Linked DNA regions of Homo sapiens: all the other regions are linked to region 4. The links are contacts of gene promoters, found by promoter capture Hi-C in blood cells and fetal thymus (Javierre and others, 2016). All regions are on one chromosome and are shown on one strand. The core of a region is centred on a gene start or on the middle of the fragment in contact, and the rest is flanking DNA. Distances in the headings are between cores, read along the strand shown.

Region 1 (4,547 bases), core at 1,687-4,186, 2.1 Mb after region 4:
AAGGGACCGGGGCGCTCCACGTGGGAGAGGGACTTGGACTTGCCAGCCCAGGAGTAGGTGTGGCCAAATCTCCGCAGATACTCGGGTGGGTGACTCCAGGAGGCGCCCCTGACAATCACAGCAACCTGGAAGTCACACCCCGCCCCCCGCGCTCCTCGGCCCAGGGTAGGACTTGGAAATGCCTGTCAGACTGGGAAGGACGCAGCTGCCTTGTCAGCCGTTTGATCTCCAACCGGCGAGGACAAGAGGAGTTGTGGGGCCTCTCCGTGGCCCGGGGACAAGGCCAGACCACGGCCCCCGTGGACACCCCCCATTCCCCAGGCTGTGGCCAACTTTGTCAATTTGATGACCTGGCCTCCAGGGCTGGGCGCGCCACGCGGCTGGCCTCCTCTCCCTTCTCAGGGTTTCTCTGGAGGCGGCCAGGGCGGGTCGGGGCCTGGCTCCGGCTAGGCTTCGCGGGCGAGTCCAGCTGCACCCACCCCACTCCGCCCCCAGGCCTGGCTCCGGCGGCTTCACCCGGGCGCATGGCGAGGCCGTGACGCCTCAGCGCCGCCTCCCTCGGGGCCTTTTCCTCGGGGGGCACACGGGGGTTTTTGTTTTCGTCCCGAAGGTCTTGGGTGGGGCGATGGCACCAACAATTTAACAGCGCCCAGAGTCCGTGAGCGAGAACAGAAAGAGATCCCTTCCAGTCCCATACCCTAAAAAATAATAACAATAAAATGTGCCCTGGCTTGCAGTTCTGTAAACTGTGGGCTCCACGGTGGGCGGACGCGAGGCCGAGCGGATGGAGACCGGGGGCGGGGCGCGGACTTGCACCTCCTCGCCCTGGCCGGGCAGGCTGCACCCGGCTGCCCACCCCCAACACCCCACCTCCACGTGGTCCAAAGTCTAGTAGGGCCTCCCTCTTCTGCCATCCCTCTCACCGGGAAAATCTTTCCAGGAAAGTGGCTTAAAAAAAATATGCCCACACGCACCTTTAATAAACTTCTTTAAGACATTCATAAACTGGCCATCCCTACTCGCCCGGACTCTAAATTTGAAAGATCAACTCGCGCTCTCTTTCTGAGAACTAGCGATGTGAAGCCCAGAGAGGGTGAGCACTTTGCCCTAGGACACACAGCGCGTCAGGGACAGGTCTGGACCCAAAACACCGCGGCGTGCCTGCAGCCCAGCGCCGCCGGCGGTCCGGGACTCGAAATCCCGACCCACGACCCTCACCTTCCTGGGGTTGATTACAAGGAAGGCAGACCCCGCCAGTGGCAAGGCGGGACGGGGAGGACCCCTCAGGAAAAGGGAGCCCCTCCGCGAGCGGCGCAAGGGCTCTCGGAGTCCCAGCTGCAGCCGCCACCCCGCGTGCGGTAAGGGGCCGTGCCTGGGGAGGGGGCACCCCCTCCCCACTCCCAGCAGGAAGTAGCTGGCGTGGGCCGGCGCGTGCCCCACGGACCCGAGGAGCACTTCCTCATTGGCCCCGCGCTGCCCCGACGGCGGGAAGAGGGACGCGCGGGCGGGCGGACGCAGGGCCGGACACGCCGCCGCCCGCCGGCGCGCTCCACCTCGCGGCAGCCGGGGAGAGGCTGCTCTGCCCCTGCCCAGCCTTGAGCCGGCCCCTTCGCCCTCCTCCTCCCCCTTTTCCTCCGCATCTTCCTCCCCCTCCTCCTCCTTCTCCCCCTCCTTCCCCTCCTCCTCCTCCTCCTCTTCTCCCGAGAGGCGGCCGGGCGCAGGCAGGGAGCGATCCCAGCTGCCACTCCAGTCTCCTCTTTTTCCCTCTGCCCGTCTGGCACGGGCCTCATCAGCGCGCAAAGCTGTTAATGTCTGGTCTCACAGCTCCCCCTTTAGTCTTGCTGCGCTCCATGTCTCACGTTCCAAGCCGGATCAATAGCCGCCTCTCGGCCGACCTTGACCTCTCCCTCGACCCTGCCAGGCTTCCGCAGCTGGCCCCGTACTAATGTTTCCCCACTCTCTAGATGCCCAGACAGCAGGCGGGGCGGGAGGGGGGTGGTCGACCTCGGCCCACAGCCATGTACCCACCCCTGCCTCAGCACCCCAGGCAGGCGAGAGGGGGCTTCAGGACTCTCCTGAGAAGGTCACTGCACCGCCCCACCGCACCCCACCCCACCTCTTCTTCACCAAACCTTTGTTTAAAATACAAGTCACTCCTGCCCCCTCCCCACCCCCAAAAAAGAGGGTGCAGGTGGCTCACATATGAAAATGTAAAAGGAAAAAGTGTGGGTCCAAATGTGGTCCTGAACTAATATCTTAAAACCAGGTTCATTTCTCTAGCACCTGCTGCAGACCTACTGTGTGCTGGGCCCAAAGCTGGGGCTTTGTGCATGCTGGAATCACATGGAAATAAATGCCACCTTTTCTGCACTATCTTTACACACACACACACACACACACACACACACACACAGAGCAGATGTCAAAAAGCTTTTTGAACTCACAAATATTTCCCTGCTATTCTTTTTCTAGCTTCACAGTGCATTCCAGCAGATAATCCTCCATATTCTCAGTCACTTTAAATTTCTTTATAGAGGAATAGTTCAGAAATCAGAAATCATTTCATCAAATCAGAGTGCATTTTTATTAACCTTATGTGGGGCTTTAATTCCCTGTGTGTGCTGCGTGTAACACACCATGCAGTGGGGGCAGATTAAACAGACACGTGACCCCCAAGCCAGGCTTTTTGTTTAAAATTCTTTGAACGATTCTCAATACTTAACTCAGCTGAGGTTGGACTCTATTCGAGATCCTACAATGTTATCTTTGCCTTCTGAGCTGTTATATTTTATCTCTTATGTCTTTACAAAAATTTGGAAAGAATCAAGATAAGACGTGTCAGTAGAAATGGGAAGTCCTAATGTTTCTGCAGAAAGAAAACTGACATTTCATTTGTTTTTGTTGTTTTCTTTTTAACACAGATCCACCCTCTGAAACGCAGTCAACTTTGTAGCAATTCAACAGCACATCTTACCAAATTACTTTGGGCTTCATTTTTGGTGCTTTAAAACAAAGAAGAAGAAGAAGAAGAAGAAGAAAACCATGCAAAGAGAGGGCAAATCGTTTCATATTCACAGGTATAGGGCAGACTCAGAAGCAACCCCTGTCTGTTCATTTCTATTCCTCCGGATCTATAAGTGTTATTGACTGAGAAGATGAACATGAATACGATGTTCCGATCTGATCAGTGGATGGACTTATTCTAACTTGTGAGGAAACCACAGTGGAGGCACCAAGCAAATCATATTTATGTACATATTAATAAGGCTCCCAAGGTGGTCCTTATCTCTTTCCTTACAGTTCTAGAATCTTTAGCAGCTATCAAATCCAGAGGCATAAAAAGACAAAAGAGGCCTTTTGGGCTTCCTGCTGTATCTTCTAGAATTATTTTATGTCATTTCTGAAAATTACAGCAAATTTCTGGGAGCCATAAGCACTCAATTAAAGCTTTGCTGGATTTAGAGGAGTTTTTCACGTTGTCACCTGATAGCAGAGTCAGGACCACAAAACTTGCCTTTCAACAGTTGTTTGGTTGATTCTTTTGGTGTACTGAATTTAACAACATTGCTTTTGTTAAAACATGACATCATTGGCACCTTATTTTTTTCTGCAAGTAATACCTGGCCTTGATACAGTAGTACATTTCTGACCATTGCTTAACTGTATAAGGCATAGGTAAGCTGTAGGAAAACTGAGGCATCATTGCCGGCTGCCTTTGTATCTGCAGCCTGCAAGGGGTTAAATAAAATTCACTGTTCCTGATTCATGTATTATTTTCCTTAAAAAATACTTACCCAGCTCCCCGTATATGAAAAGGACTCACACCCACATTGAATGTTCCTAGCTCTGTCCCTGTCATCAGAAATGATATTGAATGGCTCAGTACTAGGGGATCTGGAACTATTTCTACAGCTTTCTCACCTCATTTGGAATTTTCTTGTCTTGCTAATTTTAATTCTTTAGTTGAGTCATCAATTCAAATTTGGTAGGGACTGGCATCACCCAGTTGGTCGACTTGGGAGAAATATCGTTCATGAAGATGATCAGACTGCACCAAATTCCACCCCCACCCCTCACATATACAGAGATCCGAGCGGCTGTGGTGTGAGTGCACGTGTGTGTTTGTGTGTGTGTGTGTGTGTGTGTGTGTGTGTTATGCAAAAGGGTCTCTCTGCTGCTTTCTCTTTTGTCACTGAGTCTCCAAATTGTGTAACTGAAACTGCAAGGAAGACCGTTTTCCTGAAGATGCTGAGAGCTCTGTTTTGAAGACACACACATATCCGTGAGTTTGAATTCAGTGGTCTATTGACCATCCATCTGCCCTTTGTAGAGAACAGACAAGGAAAATAAAGAGAGTTAAAGTGGTTCAAATGAGGGACTCAGAAAGGAATTTTCAGTTCCGACTCTGGCTGTCAGCTGCTGTCATTGAGACCGAGCAACAATGAGGTGTCTGGTGATAGGAAATGGGGAGGACTAGGGATGGAGGCAGTAATGATCACCTTCCTAACAAGGGTTTTATGAGGCTGTGAGGATTAATTAGTTTGTAT
Region 2 (4,846 bases), core at 451-2,950, 2.3 Mb after region 4:
GCTGCACTGCTCCCTGGATCCAGACATTAAAACCAAAGCCAGTGACCGCCGAGCACAGCAGCTTCCCCCACATGGGCCATGACTGCTTCCTCCGACCAAGGAAGTGCTTGGGCAGCTTCCTTCCAGAACACTTGTTCGTCTGTTCACTCACTCAAACACTCATTTACTCATTCCTACTCAGACTGTTCTGTACAGGATTTAAGGTAGTTAACAACAGCAAAACATACACACACACACACACACACACACACTCTCTCTCTCTCTCTCTCTCTCTCTCTCTCTCTTTCTCTCTCTTAAAAATGAAACCTCAGGGCCAGGAAATTTGTAAGATACATTTTAGGATGAAAAATAAAAACACAACCACGAGAGGTCAAATCTCAGCATAAGAAACCCCAAATGACTTGTTTTAAGCTAATATAAAAGTAGATGCTCAATACAAATACTTAACTCTTTCTGGGCATGAAATAAGAGGCTGTAGCCAGGAACATTTTGTGTTCTACACAGATTCTGTTTGCAATGTTATTTACTCTAACAGGATGCTTGGCATTAAAATGCTTGCTGGCAATTTCAGATTTAGAATGCAGAGTAGGTTAACAAATAAAGTCCTACGGTCCACGTATGCCACAGCTGACTACACAACATCACAGCATCAACTGATCCTGAACTGCTCTATGTAAGTGAAAAAGACTAGTGCCCCGTGAGTGAAATGAGGCTCTGTCAGGCTACAAATGTAGAATTTTGATATATTTACCCTATCCAAGATGTTTTAAGTTTTCTTCAAATGCAGTTGAGAATTATTTGCGTATTACAAATTAATACTGACAACACATCGAGGATTTAATAAAACATTTCTAGGGTAAAACAAATCTATTTCTTCTTTCTCCAGTATTGTATCTTCTCTCTTCCCAAAAGTACTGTAGTTTTAATCCACTTTACCTTTAATCTGAATCCCTATGCTTTACACTTTCATGATTTAAAAAGAAAAAAGTCAACATCTCTTTTTTCCTGAAATGACTTACCTTCAGTCATACAGAATACTCGGAGAAAAGCCAAAAGCTGAGCAGAGATGGGCGGCTCGGTAAAATGCAATGCAAAAACACTGGAACTGATAAAAGCAGAAAGCAAGATCAGTCACCCTGCTGCGGTTACCCACTTGCTCCAAACTGAGATTCCTTAAGTCTACAGCACGTGTGGTTGTCCTCAAGGAGAGCTGAGCTGGAATGGGTCATTCCAGCTCCTCATCTCAACTGTGAGCACGATTTTCAGCCCCTGCAAAAGGCCGCAGGCTGGGGCGGAGGCAAGCGGACATCCAGAATTGGAGACCATCCTCACAAGCTTTTCCTAGAGCCTAACAGCTGTAATCTCAGGTTGCACATAATACATTCAAAAATTAAACATACACATGGTTTTTAAAAAGTGTTAACAATAATTTATGTTGAGTTCACACTTTAATCATTAATCAAATATTGACAAGTTCAATAAAAAAAAGGTCTGCATAATCCATTTTCATTAAGAATGGTTCCTCTATTCCCTGGAGAACTAATGAATCCTAATTCCTGTCTTCTTTATCATTTTATGCCTCAAATGCAAGAAAATCTTAAAGAACTTAACTAGAAATTCTTGAAATCACTGAGGATCATGACTTCATTACAGAAACTAATGGTAGCAACGAATTAAATGAAACAAATTGATCCAGGCCATTAACCTTTTCAAGGTGAAAGACATGAATGATACGAAAGTAGTTATTTAACTTAATGAGGATTTCAGGCCATATCCCCCAGAACTGACTGTGAATGCGCCCAACGACACAATTATGTTTACCTGAAAACGCTGGTAAGCCACCAAGCGTCGCCATGGCTTAAATTTGCTGTGCCACGGGGATAAACGGATTAAGACAAACTACTGGAGAGAAGTTTTATTAACACACCAATTAAACACTATGCAACTGGAAATAGTTCAAGTACTGCAAGAAAGGGCCAACCGATGTTTTTCTACGTACGTGGGGATGCCGGCACGAGCCAAGACCTCGGCCTTCATGGCGTAGAGTCTGTCACTTTTACTCACTCCAAGCTTTATTTTCACTCTGTCGTGTGAGTTATTGTCAAAGAAAAAACCACTGTGGATCACAAACTCTGCGTTGGATCGAGTGCCATAAAAAATGTAAATCTGAGATGCAGTAAAGAAAAAAGAAAAGGGCATTAGACAAACTTGGCATGTATTCTTAACACAGGGCAGGGCAGAGGCTTAGTGCTACTTTACATTTAGACACTAAATAGCTGAAAGTATTGATACACCTGTTTGGTATAGGTTGCAAGGGTGAAGCTGTGCAATTTTCCCAACTTTCCAAACTGTCTGAGACCAAGCACCCACTTCCACCACCGTGTGGAGAGGAGAGGGGAGGCCAGGAGAAAGTACCACCAAAGGCCTTACTAGTACTCAAAGGACCCCAGGTGACCTGGGGTCACCAGGCCTCTATTATAAACCTCTTCTCCTTCCAAAGGACAGCAAGGCTATTACTATAAGACTGTATTTTAAAATTCACCAAGTTCTTCCTGTCCTTTTAATACAGCAGGGTCTCTTCTGGAACTGTAAAGCAGTATCTGTCAGAAACTTATTTCTAGATCCTCTGGCAATTAATCCTGCACCTGGCAGGTGGGTTTATAAACTTTTCTGAAGAAGGAACAGATCAGTACTTTGCTAGGCAAGTATTTTTCATTTTGTCTCAACTGGAATGTCAATTATGGATGTGAGTTCCATGACTGTACTGTCTGCTTGGGTGTAGACTGATAGAATGTAGGAATTTATAGACACGTATTTTCAAACTCACCCAAAGGCTTACCCCTCCTCCCACCCAAACTACTAGATTAAAAAATCAGAGATTAAAATGAAAGTATAAGACAACAGATTCCCTTGCTTTTGCCCCTTAAATACTCTTATAAAGTTCTAATCAGTAGAAAAAATAAAGGCAACAGTTTATGAAATGTTAAACATTGTTTAGTGTCATAACACACTTTATTTTCAGTTAAGAGTGTTACAAATATTTACAAATATTAGGCCAATTGTGCAACTAACTGTGTTTAAATCTTTTTCTCTGTGGACCCAAAGCACAATGCAAAGCACAAGTGAGTAAAGCACAAGTGAATATGTGTACTACGGGTTCTGGTCTCAAGATGTGTTCCAGAAAAACAATCCTCAATGTGAATTCCACATTTTTTCCCCTAAGTTAAGTTCCTTTTTAAGATTACCAACACGGTGTTAACGTTAGTGCCCACTGGCTGGCTCACATTTTGTGAGATGCCACGAGACCCACCTGCTCTCCAGCCCGAAAATCCTGCAGAGCCACACACTCACAGCGGTCATCTTCCAGGTTGTAACCAGTAGTGATCTAGCCCGGGGAGGAGGAAGGAAATGATGGTGAGGCAAACACACGCACATCTCACTTAATCTACAAGCTTGTTTCTGGCAATCAGAGGAAAAAGGGGATCCCAAGGTACTCAAAAGGTGGCATCTGAATGCTTTGGAAAATGGGGCAAAGAACTGCTTGAGCACTGAGGTTAACTCTAGTTATATCAGAGATGATTATGGAAAATTACATACCTGAAATAAAGGAAGCACAGTTAGATAAAGAGACTATATAGATTGTCACTTGCTGGACTCAACAAAACATAATCGCCTCTGGGCCTCCCTGGTGGCAGTGAGGGCAGTGAGCCCACAGGCCACGCCTCCCACAGGTGCACCTAAGCCTCCTTTCTGTTCACTGACGATCTGCACTATTCTCATTCATTTGCAAGTATTATCTTTATCTAATGTTTGGCCATTAAGAAATCCAAGTGGGTGTTCCATTGGATAAAGAATCAGGGAAAAGAAAAGCTCTATTTCTGAATTATGGATATATGCTCTGAATTAAAGAAATTAAAACTTTCAAGCATGCAAAGGCAAAATAAAATAACTGCTGTTTTTTATGCCCTCTCTTTCTGCTGAGAAATACAATGTGAGAGTTTCTAAGTCCATTACAAATAAATATAGAAAATCCTCTCATTATACCCCAAACCTGCGTCTCCTTCTAAGCTCCCCCGTCTTAGTGAAGGTCAGCCAATGTCATGGCCTCAGCACACAAGTTACAAGGAAACCCTCGCGTCTCACCTGGTCAGCATTTCATCTTGTAAATACTGTTTGGACTTTCTTCCTCATTCCTCTGCATGGCTATAGTCCTTATTCCTTCTCACCTAGCTTGTTATTTGCAAAAACCTTCCAACTCTTGGAACCTAGTCTCAAAATCCAATACTGTCCTTCTGGAGTTGCTAATTGTACGATGTCACTCTCCTGTTCAAAATCTTCCTATGATTCCGCTCTGCCTTCGGAATAAACCCCAAGTTCCTGAGCACGGCCGAATAAGGAGGCGGCTCACGCTTCCCTCCAGCTTCAGGAACTGCCACCCACCTGCCATCCCAGTTCCCTCCTGCCTGACACTACCTTCTACTCCTGTTGTGGCCTGGCTTCTCAGGGAAGCCCCTCCTTACCCTGCCCTCCTGTGCACTCCCACAGCCCAGTCCTTATGCGCTCCAGCCCAAGTCACGTTATCTGTGCACCTGCCTCCCCGTCGGTCACACTTGGAAGCTGGAGCCCCTTGTTGATCTCTGTGTCCCGAGTGCTCAGCACACAGAACCTAAAACCTGAAGTGGTCTTTGAGAATATTCACGTGATGCATGAACCCGCAGGGGAAAGGAAAGGGTCCCCAGCTTCTATTAAAACCTCCTTCTCAGAGTCCTGTCTTTTAGAGCAGCGCCCAATCTCTTAGGTTGTCTGTCGATGGTCACTGATTACTTTTTGACCTACTCATTTTATC
Region 3 (4,494 bases), core at 698-3,197, 2.2 Mb after region 4:
CTTCAACATATGAATTTAGGGGGTGATATGGTTTGGCTCTGTGTCCCCACCCAAATCTCATCTTGATTTGTAATACCCACATGTCAAGGGAGGGACCTGCTGGGAGTTGATTGGATCATGGGGGCAGTTTCCCCCATGCTGTTCTCGTGACAATGAGTTTTCACCAGATCTTATGGTTTAAAAATGCTTGGCAGTTCCCCCCACCCCTTTTTTTTTCTCTCTCTCTCTCCTGCAGCCATATAAGAATGTGCTTGCTTCTCCCCCACTTTCTGCCATGAAAGTAAGTTTCCTGAAGCCTCCCCATGCAGAACTGTGAGCCAATTAAACCTCCTTTCTTTATAAATTACCCAGTCTCAGGTATTCTTTATAGCCGTGTGGAAACAGACTAATACAGGGAGACATAAACATTCATTCCATAATAACATAATTACCAAACTAACTCAAAGTGACATGATCACAGCTCACCTCAGCCTTGACCTTCTGGACTCAATCAATCCTCCCATCTCAGCCTCCCAAGTAGCTGGGACTACAGGAGCATGCCGCCACACCTGGCTAATTTTTGTTTGTTTGTTTGTTTGTTCTTTGTAGAGACGGGGTCTAACCATGTTGCCCAGCCTGGTCTCAAACTCCTGAGCTCAGGCGATCCTCCTGCCTCAGCTGCTCAAAGTGCTGGGATTGTAGGCATCAGCCACCATGCCTGGCCCTAATAACTATTAAAGGAATTGAATTTGTGATTTAAAAACTCTTCCCCAAAAAAACGATGCCCAGGTAAATACAACTTCACTGGTGATTTCTATTAAACATTTAAGAAGTAGATAGTACCAGTCCTACACAAATTTTTTCAGGAAGTACAGAAGGAAGAAATACTTTCTAACTCATTTTGTGAGGCCTTAATACCAAAATCAAAGACATTACAGGAAAAAGAAACTATAAACCAAATGCCTTAGAAAACTACACAAAATCCTAGATAAATATTAGCCACTTTGGGAGGCCAAAGTGGGCCGATCACTTGAGCCTAGGAGTTTGAGGTCAGCCTGAGCAAAATGGTGAAATCCCATCTCTACCAAAAAAAAAAAAAAATATATATATATATATACACACAAACACACACACACACACACACACACACAAATTAGCTGAGCGTGGTGACACACGCCTGTTGTCCCAGCTACTCAAGAGGCTGAGGTGGGAGGATCACTTGAGCCCAGGAGGCAGAGGTTGCGGTCAGCTGAGATAGCACCACTGCACTTCAGGTTAGGCAACTGAGCAAGATCCCATCTCAGAAATAAATAAGTAAATACACATTAGCAAACTGAATCTAGCAATACATACAAATGATAATACATCATAACCAAATAGGGTTTGTCCCAGAAATGAAAAGTTGGTTTCAGATTTAAAAATCAATCAATATAGTTCACTATCTTCACAGAATAAAGGAGTCAAACTATATGATCATCTCAGTAAATGCAGAAAAAGTATTGAAATATTCAACACTTATTCATGATTAAAAACTCAGCAAACTATGAATAGAAGGGAACTTCCCCATCCTGATAGAGGGTATCTAGAGAAAACCATAGCTAGCGTCATACTTAATGTCAAAAGACTGTGTGCTTTTCTTCTAAGGTTCGGATCAAGGCAAGAATGTTGACTACAACTGAATATATGCATCCCCTATAATTTGCTCCTCAGCAGAAATGTGAACATACTGGTACCAGAAGATATGTTGAAGATTGTTCATAACTGTGTTATTTATTATAGCCCCAAACTAGAAACAACTCAAATGTCTATGAATAATAGAATGGGTACATAAATCATGGCATGGTCATACAATGGAATGCTATAGATCAGTGAGAAAACGTGACCACTGCTACATGCAACAACACGGATAAAGTTCATGAAGCCAGATACAAATACCTACATACTATCTGCTCATTTACACAAAGCTCAAAAACAAGAAAACTAGGCTGGGTGCAGGGGCTCACACCTGTAATCCCAGCACTTTGGGAGGCCAAAGCAAGAGGATCACTTGAGCCCAGGAGTTTGAGACCAGCCTGAGCAACATGGCAAGACGAAATATAAAAAAATTAGCCGGCATGGTGGTGCATGCCTGTAGTCCCAACTGAGGTGGGAGGATCACTTGAGCCTGGGAAATCAAGGCTGCAGTGAGCCATGATTGTACTGCATTTCATCCTGGGTGACAGAGCAAGACTCTGTCTCAAAAAAAAAAAAAAAAAAACAAGCAAAATAGGTCATGGTGATAGAAATCAGGAAAGAGGTAACATCTGAGGGACAGCAATGACTAGATGGGGCTATGAGGGAGCTTCTGGGATGCCAATAATTTTCTATTTATTAATATATGTGGTGGTTACACAAGTGGACTGGCTTTCAAGAAACTCATTAAGTTGTATGGTATGGATTGTGTATGTTCTTCTATGTTCGTTACACTTCAATTTTTTAAATTACTTTAAAAATTATGGTGCATCCACAATATAAAATGCCACATAGCATTCTTTAATAAGATAACTCTCTGTGTATATACTAATTATTAAAATCTCTTCAAATCACTTTAAGGGAAATTTTTTATATATAAGATATAAATTATAAAAATATATAATTTTTTATAACATGATATTAAATAGTCTATTTATTATACATTTAAGAGAGTGTGTCTTAGTCCATTTTCTGTTGCTTATAACAGAACATCTAAAACTGGATAATTTATAAAGAAAATGAATTTATTTCTTAATAATTATGGAGGCTGGGAAGTCCAAGAACAACGGGCTGTATCTGGTGAGGGCCTTCTTGCTGGTGCAGACTTTCTGCAGAGTTCCAAGGTGGCACAAACATCGCATGGAGAGGGGCTGAGCATGCGAGCTCAGGTCTCTCTTCCCCTCCTTTTTTTTTTTTTTTCTTTCTTTTTTTTTTTGAGACAGGGTCTTGCTCTGTAACCCAGGCTGGAGTGCAGCAGTGCCATTTCAGCTTACCACAACCTCCACCTCTTGGGTTCAAGCGATTCTCATGCTTCAGCCTCCCACATAGCTGGGACTACAGGTGCATACCACCACGCCCAGCTAGTTTTTGTATTTTTAGTAGAGATGTGGTTTCACTATGTTGGCCAGGCTGGTTTTGAACTCCTGGCCCCAAGTGATATGCCCGCCTCAGCCTCCAAAAGTGCTGAGATTATAGATATGAGCCACCGTACCCAGCCTCTCCTCCTCTTTTATGAAGCCACCAGTCCCATTCCCATGCTAACCCATTCATTAATTCATGGATGGACAAATCAGTTCATGAGAGCAGAGCCCCTCATGACCCAATCATCTTTTAAAGGCCCCACCTCTCAATATTGTCACATTGGGGATTAAGTTTCAATATTAGTTTCGGAGGGGACAAATATTCAAACCACAGCAGAGAGAGAGAGCAAAAGTGTATACATACATTTTAGATGGATAGATAGATACTAAGTTGATAGTTTTGAATGAATTGCCAACACATAATAAACGAAATTCTAAAGTGAGAGTGCTGACCAAGATGAAAATTTTCAAAGGAAGTATTTTAATCAGTGGCATATTGAGAGTGGGCTTGTGAGAGTAGTGTACCCTGTGTGCAGGAAGTTGTCTATAGATAATTTTAAAACAATAATAAAACTAACTAAAAGTGGATCTGCTTTTTATTAATATCATGCATTGGCAATTCTAAATAATGCCAGTGATAAGATATTTCTCTAGGAAAAAAAATTTTTGTTTATTTAAGTACTACATAATTACTGTTATTACAGTTGAATTTTACTAATATGTATGCAAGTTTCAAATTAGCACATTTTTATTACTTATCCTTTATTAAATATTGTATCTTACATGGAAGTTAATATAAAGAACTTCTAGTTAAGTGATTTGCATCCAAAATACATTAGCTCAATTACAGTGTTTATTTAGATGGCAATTTTATAGTGGCTGGAAATCATTCAAGTTTGCAAGCTGAGAGGTGTAGTATTTTGTTTGATAAGTGCAAATTTTCATTCATAAATTTAAAAATTTACTAAATTTAAATATATTTAACATTAAATTTATTTTTTAAATTGTTTTAGAGCTAAAAAATGAAGAAAATAATAATTACTGATACTGAAAATAATTTTGTCATATTGAGGAGGGGAAGTGTTTAAAATGATCTGCTTCAGGTCTCTACTGCCTACTTCACAAAGATGCTGTAAAGATTAAATGAGATAATGCATATAAATTTCATTGCATAGCATCTAGTGTATAGTCGATGCTCAATGCATGGTAGCCTTTGTTATTAACATTCATAAGCAGTTGGTCCCCTACCCACCTTCCTCAACCACTTGTCCCTCTATTTCCAGATTTTGTTGGGCAAGTTGAGAGTCAAAGTCTGATATAGTTTGGATATTTGTCCCAGCCCAAATCTCCTGCTGAATTGTAATTCCCACTGCTGGAGGTGGGGCCTGGTGGGAGATGTTTAGATCATGGGGGTGGATCCCTC
Region 4 (5,074 bases), core at 1,814-4,313:
CTGAAGCAGCACCCATTCAGATCCTTTCTCCTTCAGGCCCCAATTTCCCTGCTTCTTTAACCCATTGGGTTCTGATAAGATGCTAAGGACACCCCTTAGTCCCTGGCTCCTTCTTCCCTGCACGCCCGCCTGGCTATTACACTGATGAAGACAGGCTAGGCTGAGCTGCCCTCACAGGAGCCCCAAAGCCACAGTGGCTGACCTAGATAAGGACACATTTCTTGCCTGTGCTACCCCTCCCTGGTAGGGGGTGCTGCATCATTTTCACCATGGGGTTCAGGTTGAGGGAGGGGACCCAGCCTGGGACTTCACCAGTCCTTAGGAGGGAAGGAAAAGAGAACTCAGTGGAGCTGTGAGATGACTCTCAAGGATTCTGTTTGTAAGCGGCCTACAGCCATCCTGCCCACGTGTGATCAACACAGTCAGTCACACGGCTGCACCTGAATCTAACAGGGTGGGGGAAAGCATTGTCCTCTCTTGTCTTCTGCGTCTCATGCCTTTAATGCAAGAATCCCATAACGGAGACCCTTCACCCTGTTAAAAGCTAATTACAGCATCAAGTTAAGTTGAACCGTTTCCTTCGATGAATGCAATAGTAGTATTTGTTAGTATTTTGGGAAGCCTCATAGCCTTGCTGTGCCCACAGTTATAACTGGAGGTGCCAATATGTCATTTCCTAAGCTGTGACTCTTCCCTCACTCTCATCCCCTTATCGTTCACCAATCTTCCACTTCAGGTCTCACCTTCAATGTCACTTCTTCCAAGAAGCCCTCTTGGCCTCTACACAGTTAGTACTTCTGGTCTCGCTCTCTGTAATTCTTCTTCAAGGCTAAGCACTTGGCCAACACCCATTTTTTGGCCAGACTAAGGAAGGAAACAGTGTCTGTCTGGTTCAGTGCAATTCCCCCCTGATCATAAGATGAGGCTTAATATATCAAAGGCACTCAAAAAATATTGTTTGAATGAGTAGACAGCTCAAAACATGAACACATAACTCATTCTCAAAGGATATTATTTTCTTATGATGTGTTTTAAACAAACAAAAAAAAGGAACTTTAAATTTCTGTACCCAAACCCTGATGGGCTCTGAGATTTGCCTGTCGTTTTGTGTATTTCAATCCCCTAAATTAGGGATTGTGGAAAGACTGGCCAGGTAAGTTACTGTTCAGATCAGGACCATTTGTGAGAGTGAAGTGTATGTGTGTGTGTGTGTGTGTGTGTGTGTGTGTGTGTGTTGGGGGGAGGGCAGGGAGGTCTGGGGGGTGGAGCTTATCACTAATGCCACCCTCTGGGACAAATCACACAGAACTTGCAAGGTGGAAAACAACACACACACGTACACACACCCTTTCAAGAGTTGTCCAGGCCTATTTTTCTTTTACTGTACCCCAAACTCCCTTGAGCCTTTTGTTTTATGAATTGGGCCCTTCTATTTTACAGCCAGCACCATTTGCACTTACTGCAGAGCTGTATTATGGCCAAAGACTCTTTTTATTTTTTTTTATTTCTTATAGTCCTGGAACATGGCCCCCTGGAGAATGTCACTTCACAAAGCAATGGCCAGTAAACTTGGCTCATGCGTCAGCGAAACACTTCCAACGAAAGTGCATCAACTTCTGTTCTTACACATTGTCGTCTTTCACCTTAACAAGCACACCCCAAAAAAAGTCCTCTGGTTTCTACGGCTTGTTAGGTCTATCATCTTTTTAATTAATAGTGTTTTTACGAAGCCGTCTGAACTGTGTCATTTCCATTATCAGAAACGCATTGCCATTAATGAATAATTTTCATTTCTGATCCCTGGTATCATGCTAGTTGATCTCCTGTTTCCATGCCTTCAAATGATAGCATCGTTTTCTGCCCACGATCAAATTTAATTTGGACTCTGATTATATTATGCTGTTGCGACTGAAGTGTCAATTTTTGTCAGGCAATTAGGAGCTATAACCTGTGAAGTTAAGTTTGATAGGCATTGTAATTGGATTGTTACAGTAATAGCCTGGAACGTTCCTTTTCCTCTTGCTTCTTTGATTCTTGATGCATACTCTCATCGTGAGAACAAAGACATTTGGTTATTATACAACCTTAGGATGTTTGAGACAACAAGATCACAAGTTGAAGTTTTTGCAGTGGAGTGGGCTTCGATGTAACTCGAAGTGTGGGACGTTGAAAGTTTGAGAGATTTGGAAAAAATTAGAACAAAGGGAAAGAAGTATCACAGAAAGCATTGTGTAAGAAGAAGTTAACAGGTCCCCGAAGTTCACTTCAAGATTCCAGATAAGTTGCAAACAAAGATGAATCACAAATAGCTTAGAGTCACCTGAGAGTTCCTCTCTTCCTCCCTCCCTCCCTCCCTTCCTCACTCTCTCCCTCCTTCCCTCCTTCCTTCCTTCCTTCCCTCCTTCCTTCTTTCCTTCCTTCCTTCCTTCCTTCCTTCCTTCCTTCCTTCCTTCCTTCCTTCCTTCCTTCCTTTCTTCCTTCCCTCTCTCCCTCTCTCCTTTCCTCCTCTCCTCCCATTATTCCTTTCTCCCTCCCCCTTTCTTTTCTTTCCCTCATTTCTACTAATTTATTGACACTGGACTAAATACATTAAATATTGTCATGGAAAAGACAAGCCCTCTATCCTCGTGTGGTTCATGGTATAATAGGGGAGAGATGGAAAATGTCACATCAACAGAATGATGTGACGAGATCCTTTAACAGAATACCTGCGTGTATCAGCAGATTCTCACTTGAAGAATGGGAGCTTGCCTGCAATGGGGAGGAGAGGAGAGGAGAGTGGTGCAGTGTGTGGGCACAGCTTTTGCAGAGACCTGGGCACAGCAAGGATTTGGGGCCATGAGGGAGTGGCGAGAAGTGCAGCAGGATGGGTGCCTGTGATGCAGCAGGATGGGCGCCTGTGAAGCCTGTGATGCAGGATGAGCACCTGTGATGCAGCAGGATGGGCGCCTGTGATGCCTGTGATGCAGGATGAGCACCTGTGTTGCAGCAGGATGAGCGCTTGTGATGCCTGTGATGCAGGATGAGCACCTGTGTTGCAGCAGGATGGGCTCCTAGCTGCCCGGGTGGCAGGAGGTGGGGCTGGAAGGAAGTGGGGCAGATCACAGGGAAGGGGGAAGCTGGCCCAGGCATCTGGATTTTATCCCAAAGCTCATGAATGTTAAAAGGCAGGTCCGAGGGTACCCTGGAGGACTTCCATAGCATCTTTATCAGGCCTGATGCCATGGCCCCTAAAACTCATTTGCTTTATTGCTACCCGAATACCCTTTACAAATGCAAATCCGAGCAATGAGCACACTGCCTGCAACCCTCAGGGATCCCGACTCTTACAGTGAAGACAGAGCTCTTCAATACACCCTGTGGAAAGGCTGGCCAGGTAAGTTACTGTTCAAATCAGGACCATTTGTGGGAGTGAAGTGTGTGTGTGTGTGTGTGTGTGTGTGTGTGTGTGTGTGTGTGTGTGTTGGGGGGATGGCAGGGATCTTTAGGGGGTGGAGCTTATTACTAATGCCTCCTCTGGGACAACAGGTGTCCTTGAGGACTGCCCCAGGAAAACCAGGAGGTGGGGCTTGTATCCTTAAGGCCCACATGGTCCGCCTGCGGCCTCTTTTTTTCACCCCTTCTCCCATTTGTCTCCTCCCCAGCTCTCAGCTGGCCAGCAGCACTGAGTTTCTTTTTAGTTCCTCCTACCCCCTGAAAGCTCTCTCTTGCCACAGGGCCTTTGCACATGCTGTTTTTGCTGCCTGAACCTTGGCCCTGTAGCCTCCCATTCATGCCCAGGCTTTCTGGCCACCTGGCTTCCAAGAAGGGAAAGGAGGTTAGGTTTTTCTTCCCACTCCTTCTATCTTTGCATCTTTTGCAAGAGCTGCATCCTTCACAACTTGGGTCCTACCTGATGTCTCCTCCTGTACAGTTTGCCTCCAGTTTCCTGCTCTTGTCCCTTCAGTCCTAGGGGTGACAACCACTCCCTGATGCTTCCTGTCTCTGAGCCCTTGCCATCCTATCTTTGTCCTCTTAACCCTGCTCACCTCTGTTAAGAGTCTTTTCATTAAAGATTCTTCATTTGAACCATCTGTGGCAAATTCTGCTTCCTGCTGGGACCCTGACTACGATGGTGCCTAAAACAAACTGCTGGAGGAGGAGAGAGGTGGGAGCAGAGACTCCCTTCTGGGATAGACCAGGAGGAGCTGACGCTTGTCTCCAAATACAAGAAAGACGTCGGCAGGCAGAGAGGGCTGGGAGAGCAGCTTTCAGGCATAGAGAACAGCATCAGACCAAGATGTGGAGGCAAGAGGAGGGTGGGCTTGTGGGCTAGCAAGGAGTCCAGTGTCTTCCTTCCTTCCTCCTTCCCTCCCTCCCTCCCTCTCCTTTCTTTCCTCTCTCTCTCACTCCCTCCTTTGTTTCTTCCTTTCCTTCTTTTTCTTTCTCCCCTCCTTCCTTCCTTTTTTGCTTCTTCCCTCCCTTCCTCCCTCCCTTCCTCCCTCCTTCCTTTCTTCCTCTCAGCACATACTCCTGGAGCATATACCCCGCTCTGTGCCAGGCACTGTTCTAAGCACTGCATAAATAGCAGCAAACAGACAACTTTTCTGCCCTCATGGATGTTCCATTCTCATGGGGGAAGACTGTTAACAAGCAATGGATGCATTTACACTATGACAAGTGTGTATAATATGACAGTGGAGGAAAATAAAGCCAAACAAGAGAACCACCAATGTGGCATGAGTGATTGGAGGTGTTATTTTACTGGGGGCTTCTCTGATAAGGTGATAGTTGAATGGAGTTCAGAAGGAAGTAAGGGAAAACGTCATTCCAGGCAGAGGGAAGGGCAGGTGCAAAGACCCGAGGCAGGCGATTGCTTGCTGTGTTCAAGAACAGTCAAGAAGCCAGAGTGGCTGGAGCAGGAGGAAAGAAGGCTAGAGTGATGGGGGCTGCTGTCAGAGGTTGAGGTGCAGACTGCGTTTGGTCATAGGAGCTGCTGTCATGAATTGGTGTTTACCCTGAGCTGGGAAGCTAAAGTAGGTTTGTAAGGAGGCAAATGACATCAGCTGGTTGCCAAATGAAAACAGTTTGCGAG

The links. Contacts are between HindIII fragments. The CHiCAGO score rates a contact against its expected background, and 5 or more counts as called.
Region 1: a fragment that was not itself captured here is called in contact with the fragment with the promoter of LINC02304 in region 4 in 1 of 17 cell types (total CD4 T cells); the score reaches 6.0 in total CD4 T cells.
Region 2: a fragment that was not itself captured here is called in contact with the fragment with the promoter of LINC02304 in region 4 in 1 of 17 cell types (total CD4 T cells); the score reaches 7.0 in total CD4 T cells.
Region 3: a contact is called between a fragment that was not itself captured here and the fragment with the promoter of LINC02304 in region 4, in 2 of 17 cell types (activated CD4 T cells and total CD4 T cells). The highest score is 6.7, in activated CD4 T cells.

Annotation. Positions count from the first base shown.
Region 1 is chr14:99,273,097-99,277,643 of GRCh38, forward strand. No RefSeq gene overlaps it. Among named protein-coding and RNA genes, the nearest start is that of BCL11B, 3.2 kb to the left of the region's middle. RefSeq lists a silencer at 1,312-1,511 and an enhancer at 1,912-1,961. The HindIII fragment of the contact is 1,017 bases long and covers 2,429-3,445 here.
Region 2 is chr14:99,403,206-99,408,051 of GRCh38, forward strand. It overlaps SETD3 (SET domain containing 3, actin N3(tau)-histidine methyltransferase), which reads right to left. Exons shown (of 13, transcript NM_032233.3): 9 at 3,311-3,385; 10 at 2,000-2,166; 11 at 1,020-1,105. Among named protein-coding and RNA genes, the nearest start is that of SETD3, 75 kb to the right of the region's middle. The HindIII fragment of the contact is 735 bases long and covers 1,334-2,068 here.
Region 3 is chr14:99,304,919-99,309,412 of GRCh38, forward strand. No RefSeq gene overlaps it. Among named protein-coding and RNA genes, the nearest start is that of BCL11B, 35 kb to the left of the region's middle. The HindIII fragment of the contact is 5,409 bases long and covers 1-4,494 here.
Region 4 is chr14:97,151,794-97,156,867 of GRCh38, forward strand. It overlaps LINC02304 (long intergenic non-protein coding RNA 2304), which reads left to right and starts at 3,064. Exons shown (of 2, transcript NR_146554.1): 1 at 3,064-3,376. RefSeq lists an enhancer at 2,628-2,797. The HindIII fragment of the contact is 13,309 bases long and covers 1-5,074 here.